Linked DNA regions of Homo sapiens: region 2 is linked to region 1. Evidence: promoter capture Hi-C in human tissues and cell types (Jung and others, 2019). All regions are on one chromosome and are shown on one strand. Each heading gives the region's core, a stretch centred on a gene start or on the middle of the fragment in contact. The rest is flanking DNA. Distances are from core to core; before and after follow the strand shown. Region 1 holds the start of PTGFRN (prostaglandin F2 receptor inhibitor). Region 2 has its middle 27 kb from the start of CD2.

Region 1 (3,531 bases), core at 610-3,109:
GCACTTCAGGAGACTGAGGTGGGAGAATGACTTGAGCCCAGGAGTTTGAGGCTTCAGTGAGCTGTGGTTGTGCCATTGCACTCCAGACTGGGTGAAAGACTGAGGCTTTGTTTCAAAAATAAAAATAAAGCACTAGGATCAGGGACTATAGAAAAGATGCCATAAAACTAAGTGGAAGATCTGGAAGCTTTCTGCACATGGGCTGAAGCTGAAGCAATGTGGCTGGACGAGCTCTCTGAGGGAGTCAGTTCAGAAAATCCCTTCAAGGTGAAGGAAGAAAACACAGCAGCCAGCAAGGCTGGTTCATCAGCAGCAGGAGTCATGGGGGTTACAGCAGTGTGGGCCCCGGTGTCCCCAGCAGGGGAGTAGCTATAGAAGGCCTCCTCTGGAACCCTCTGACCATAAGTGCAGAGTAATCATTTGCCCTGTGTGCAGCTGGGACCTGAATGGCACGGACACCGCACATCATGCGCTCTGTGAAAGACTCAGAGCCGCCTTCTCTAGGGGCTTGGAAGAGAACCCCAGGCCAGGTCACAGGAATCATCTTGTCCTGGTTGACACTGACAACAAGGATCCAAGAATATCAAAACATTTAAGAGTCGGCCCTGGGGTACCATGGTGGGCACTTAATAAACATATTTCCGTGGCTGGCTAGGATCACCATGTGGATCTACGTGAAGATGGTGTCTGTGTATGGAGTGAATGGAAAATGGAGAGGGAAAAAACCCACAAAAGATTCCTTGGGTGGGGGGAGGGCGCTGGGCCAAAACCTCACGGGGCACCCAGGGTTTCCGGAGGGTGGAAGACGAGGGGATAGTAAGGGAGGGAAAGTAACAGGTAGAAAAAGTTGGAGAAGCCAGGCTTTTAGGTCTTTGTGTATAAATACGCAGCTAGGCAGCTTCAAGAAAAGCTAAAAGAAAAGACTGAGGCAGAAGATCTAGCCACGACGAAAATGACGGCAGGACTCGCCCGCCGATTTCCATTGTAACGCTCCGGGCCACCCTGTGACCTTCGTGGAAGGAAGTTGGAGGATTCTCTCGCTTCCCTGGAAAGGCAACTCCGCGCGGGTTGGGTGAAGAGCGACCCGGCCGGCGGCGGCTATGGCGGGGCATATCAAAGGCTCACATTTCCGCTCTCGAGCCGAGGACCCGGGCCGGGACCGCAGCACCTTCCGGGCCGGGAGTTCAAGGTGAGCCGGGCTCCCGGCGGCCAACAGGTAGGGAGACCTGGGGGAAAGACGGCCCCGGGCCACTCCCCCCGGCACATGTTGGGGGCGAGGCTCGGCCTGGCGGAGCGGCCACTTGCACCCCGCGCGCGGGGCCCGAGCGGATTCGCGCCAGGCTCCGGGCGGCCCCGCGGCCGCTCCCCGCCGGGCCGAACAACCCGCGCACCCCGGCCGGGTTTCCCGGGAGCAGCCCGGGCACCCTCGGCGCCCCAGGCCGCGCGCTGCAGCCGCGCCCCGCCGAGCCCTCCAGGGCCTCGCCAGTCCCCGTGTGCCCCGCTGAGCCCCGCGCACACTCACCCAACGACAGGAGCGCCAGCAGCAGCGGCCTCGAGGCCAGGCGCCCCATGCTCGCCCGGCGGGAGCGACTCTCCCCCTCCTCCTCCTTCCCCGCCGCCTCTCCTCCTCCTCCTCTTCCAGCTCCGGCTGCTCCAGAGTCGGCGCTCCTCCGCCTGGGCCGCGCGCCTGCTCCGCTCTCCTCGCGAGCCGATAAATCCCAGCGCTGGGGCGTACGTGCGCCCCTGGCTCCGCTCGCTCCCTCCCGCCTCCTTCCCTCCCTCCTCCAGCCGGCCGGGCCCGGGAGCCGGCCCCGCCGATCCGAGTGTGCAGCCCCGACCGCTTCCCGAAAGCAGAAGGGAAGAACCGCAGCGCCCGCCCGCGCCTCCCATCCGGCGCTTTGCCAGCAACAAACACAAACTTTCCCAAGCCCCTCCCCGCTCCAGGTAACGGAGGAAGAGCCGGGGCCACCCGCTTAAAGGCGAGGAGGCGTCGGAGCCCACCCTGCCATCCCCTCTGGGCCCCCACCCCACGAGAAACTTTCCTCCGACCTTTAAAAGTTGGCCTGGGAAAGACTCGTCTGGAAATCCCATCGCTTTAGCCCTATCCCGGGACACCCCGCGTTCCATCACGCTGGAGTCACCCACGCGTGTCTAGTCTATCCTCAGCCAACTCCCCGCTCGTTCGGCCTCTCGTCCTGAGCTAAACACCCCACCAACCAGCCGCTTGGCCTATGCCAAAAATTATGCAGATAGGAGCGAAGGAGCTGAAAGGACTTTTAAAGGCCACGGATTCCAACCTCTACCATACAGAGGCCTTAAGTGTTTCGGTGAGGTGCCCAAGGATTCACAGGGAAGGGGCAAAATCAGAACCCCGCTCTCCTGACTCTGCCCACTCCCCGGTGGCTAGGGTGGGCCTGTCTCCTTCCTTACCCAGCTCCCTCCCTCTCCTCGGCGCCTGTGGCACTGATTAGAACAGCACCCCACAAAGACACCCATTTAAAAAACAAACAAAACCCAAGTGTATTAATAGCTATAGTACTTCATATAGAATGTACTCTTAAGACTTAATATTTATTGCTCTAAGTGGACACCACTGATTGCCAATAAAGACTCATTTTTCCCCCTACAATAGAGTTTTGTGCTTTTGATTTGAATACAAAAGGCCCGACTTGGTTGGGAGAAATGGAGCATTCCTTGCTTGAAACTTAGCAAGCATGATTCAAACACGCAAGGAGCAGCACTGGTGCCCACTGCCCGTCACTGGGCTTTCATTCACATGCAAAACGGATCGCAGATGCTTATGCGGAAACTGCCCACACTGGGGAAGAACACTGCTTTTACTCTCATGCATCCGTCTTTCAACCAACAAATGTTTCTTATTTCCCCACTATCAAATGTGTGATTAGCCAGGTATCTTTGGAAAGAGACTTAAAAATTCATTCCTGGTGGTGCAACGTTATTGTACTTAATGCCACTGAATGGTACACTTAGAAATGTTTAAAATTGCCAGGCCTGGTAACTGGTACTTGTAATGCTAGCTACTCAGAAGGCTGAGGTTGGGGGGGCAGGGGGAGGCGGGGGGCAGGGATGGTGTTGCTTGAGGCCAGGAGTTTTTATTTGTTTTGTCTTCTTTCTTTCTTTCATTTTTGAGACAGGGTCTCAAAATGAGGATCTGTCACCCAGGCCGGAGTGCAGTGGTGCGATCAGGGATCACTGCTGCCTTGACCTCCCAGGCTCAAGCAATCCTCCCACCTCCACCTCTCAAGTAGCTGGAACCACAGATGTGTGCCACCACACTCTCGCTAATTGTTTTTATTTTTTGTAGACACTGGAGTCTCCCTATGTTGGCCAGGCGGGTCTCGAGCTCCTGGGCTCAAGCGATTCTCCCGCCTCGGCCTCCCCAAAGACTGGGATTACAGGTCTGAGCCACTGGGCTGGCACTTTTTCTTCTTTTTCTTTTTTCTTTCTTTTTTTTTTTTATTTGAGGCTAGAAGTTTGAGACCACTCGGGCAACATTGTGAGACACCGTCT
Region 2 (3,531 bases), core at 694-3,193, 130 kb after region 1:
CTGCCATTATTGCAAGACTCTGGTTCTATAATATTTGTATGGATGGTTTTTGCTTACTTTTGGCTTCTCCTTCTAATTGTCTGCAGAATGTCTAATTTGTCCTGGAATAGTCAATAGACTTACCCACCCAATTACACACTCCAAGGAAGTTACAAAAATCGAACCTGGAGTCTAGTGGACCCTTAACCCAGATTTCTCCAACAGTGGTAACTTATTTACCAGCATTACAATATCAAAACCAGGAAATAGGTATTGGTGCAATACTATTAACTAAATCACAAATTTTAATTTGGTTTTCACATGAACTGCCCTCTCTCTCTATCTCTCTCTCTCTCTTTGTGTGTGTGTGTGTGTGTAGTTCTATGCAATTTAATCCCACATATACATTCATGTAACCACCACAATCAAGATACTGAACTGGTCCATCACCATAAAGGAGCTCCCGCATGCTACTCCTTTCTATTTGCTTTCCCTTGGCAACTACTGATTAGCAGTATTGTTTTTAAGGTGTCTTCTTGTTGCTGGGTACTCTTTTAATCTGTTGTCTCTAGTTGCTAATAAAATTCCATGTAAATGGCTGGGCGCGGTGGTTCATGCCTGTAATCCCAGCACTTTGGGAGGCCAGGGCGGGCGGATCATGAGGTCAGGAGATCGAGACCATCCTGGCTAACACCGTGAAACCCTGTCTCTTGCAGTGACCTGAGATTGCACCACTGCACTCCAGCCTGGGCAACAGAGCGAGACTCCGCCTCAAAACAACAACAACAACAACAACAACAACAACAACAACAAAACATTCCATGCAAGTACCAAATTTTACTTATCCATTCTCCTGGTCATGACCTAGAGTACCTACAATTCTTTACAAGAACAGACATTATGGGTCCGTGTGGGTACTTCTCTAAGATGTGTTAATGTATAGCCAGGAGTGAATTTTTTGATGCCAAATGCTGTACGATTTGTTCATTTGACTCAGCAGTGCCAGATGCTCAAAATGTATCCCTTTGACCAGAGTCTATTTAATACATAGCAAGAGTGGATGGGGCCAGGCACAATAACTCAGTTCTATAATCCCAGTACTTTTGGGAAGCTAAGGCAGAGGATCGCTCGAGCCCAGAAGGTTGAGACCAGCCTGGCGACATAGGGAGACCCCGTCTCTACAAATAATGATAATTTAAAAATTAGCCAGATGTGGCATGCACCTGTGGTCCCAGCTACTTGGGAGGCTGAGGTGGGAGGATCACCTGAGCTGAGGAGGTCGAGGCTGCAGTGATTGTGCCACTGTGCTCCAGCCTGGGTGACACAGCAAACCTCAGTTTCAAAAAAAAAAAAAAAAAAAAAGAGTGGATGGAAAACGTAGTCTTAACTTCACAACCATGTGTCCAGGTAAACTTTCATCATTAGAAGGGGGCCTGTTAGCAATGATGGCAAGAGCTTCTATTCCTAGCCTGTTAAGGCTTTTGAGTAAATATTTGGTTTTACCCCTTCCATCCATGCATACGTTAATATAATCATGATTTTTCTCCTTTAGACTATTAATGTTGTAATTTTATTGGTAGGTTATTTTTATGTTGCCATTTCCTTACATTGCTGGGATAAACTCCACTTCATCATGATATGTTTTTAAAAATATAGTGTTGAATTTGTTTGTTAATATTTCATCTAGAATTTTTGCATCTACATTTATATGTCAGAAGGGCTTGTACTTTTATTTTATTTATTTATTTATTTTTTTGAGACGGAGTCTCCCTCTATCCCCCAGGCTGGATTGCAGTGGCACGATCTCGGCTCACTGCAAGCTTCACCTCCTGGGTTCATGCCATTCTCTTGCCTCAGCCTCCCGAGTAGCTGGGACTACAGCGGCCCACCACCATGCCAGGCTAATTTTTTGTACTTTGTTTTTTTTAGTAGAGACAGGGTTTCACCGTGTTAGCCAGGATAGTCTCGATCTCCTGACCTCGTGATCTGCCCGCCTCAACCTCCCAAAGTGCTGGGGATTATAGGCGTGAGCCATCGCTCCCAGCCAGTACTTTTAAAAATGTATTAATTTATTACATTTTAATTATTAATTAAATTTGTATTGTATAATTATTACAATATTAATTATTAATTTTAAAACCTCTGCTGTGTCTGTGGTTATTTCCCCATTTGCATTCAGTTTTTAAATTTGTACTTTCTACCTCTTTTTTTTTCACTTTAGTAGCCTTGTCACATCTATCTTATTAATCTTTCTGAAACACCAGTTTAAGGTTTTATTAATCTTCTCTGTTTTGTTGTTGTTTTTCTCTAGGTCATTGATATCTGTTCTATCTTTGTTATTATTTCTTTCTTTCTGTTTCTTTGCTTGTCCCTTCCCTGTATTCTTGAGTATTACTCTTTGTTTTCAATCTGTCTTATATCTTGATAAATGTAATTAAAGCTATACATCTGTCTCTAAAACCTACTGTAGATGTGGTCTTCAAATTTTGAAGTGTTTTCATTACCAGTTTTATATATTTATTAGCTTCATTTGTTATTATTATTTTATTATCAGAACTTTCATTTTACTGTTAGACCAACTATTAATAATTGTTTTCTGGGTTTTCTAGAAATAATGCATTTCTAGAAAAAAATTCTATTTCTAGAAATAACATAGTTTTGGAAAAATGTTCTCTAGTAATCTAACAGTTTTTTCACTATGCTTTTGAAAAATATTTTATAATTTTAATTCATTATGATTGAAAAATATATTCTTGATAACATTCATTCATTAGACTTTCTTGTAACTTTCTTTGTGGATTAATATATGATTAATTTTTAAAATTGTTTCATATATGCCCAAAAAGATTGTGTGTTTTCTGTTGGATATAAATAAAGCTTATTAATTAAAATACTCAGATTTCTATATCACTGCTTTTTCTCTGCTAAACCTATTCATTTCTGAAGACTCCATTTCCTCCTCAATAATTTTTTTGTGTTAAAACTTCCAATTAAAATGATTAATTTATTTATTTGCTATGAAGTTCTGTCGATTACCTTATTTTTTTGTTGCAATATTGTCAGGTGCATATGTGTTTGCTCTACTATTCTTTCAACAAGTATGGTTTCCTTTTTTGTCCTTTGAATTTTTCTATTAGATATTAAGATTGTTGCTTCAGCTTTCTTTTGGATCATATTTTCTTTATTTTCAAACTTTTTGTATTCTTTTGTTGTAAAGTTGTCTTCTGTAAACAGTATATTGTTGGATCTTTCAAAATGCTCAATTTGAGATGTTCTCTTTTGATTGGTTGTTTAACCTATTTACATTTCTCATAATCACTTTATATTATTACTTATTTCTTCCATTTTATTTCATGTTTTTCATTACTGATACTTTTTTTTCTTTTCTAATTTTACTCTTCACTGAGTAGATACGATTTTCTTTTGCTGGTTTAAAAGAACGTATTTTATTTTTGTTTTTATGGTCTTTGCTCTTAAGACATATTTGTTTATTTATTCATCCTGACTTACTAAACTTATAAATACCTATTTCTTTCCTCCAATAAGGCAAGT

Evidence for each region. The method cuts DNA at HindIII sites, captures the fragments that hold promoters and counts their contacts. A contact is called where the count stands out against the background at its distance.
Region 2: a fragment that was not itself captured here is called in contact with the fragment with the promoter of PTGFRN in region 1 in 1 of the 25 tissues and cell types used here (mesenchymal stem cells).

The regions. Positions count from the first base shown.
Region 1 is chr1:116,908,244-116,911,774 of GRCh38, reverse strand. It overlaps PTGFRN (prostaglandin F2 receptor inhibitor), which reads right to left and starts at 1,859. Exons shown (of 9, transcript NM_020440.4): 1 at 1,523-1,859. The coding sequence starts at 1,571. The HindIII fragment of the contact is 8,899 bases long and covers 1-3,531 here.
Region 2 is chr1:116,779,766-116,783,296 of GRCh38, reverse strand. No RefSeq gene overlaps it. Among named protein-coding and RNA genes, the nearest start is that of CD2, 27 kb to the right of the region's middle. The HindIII fragment of the contact is 4,325 bases long and covers 1-3,531 here.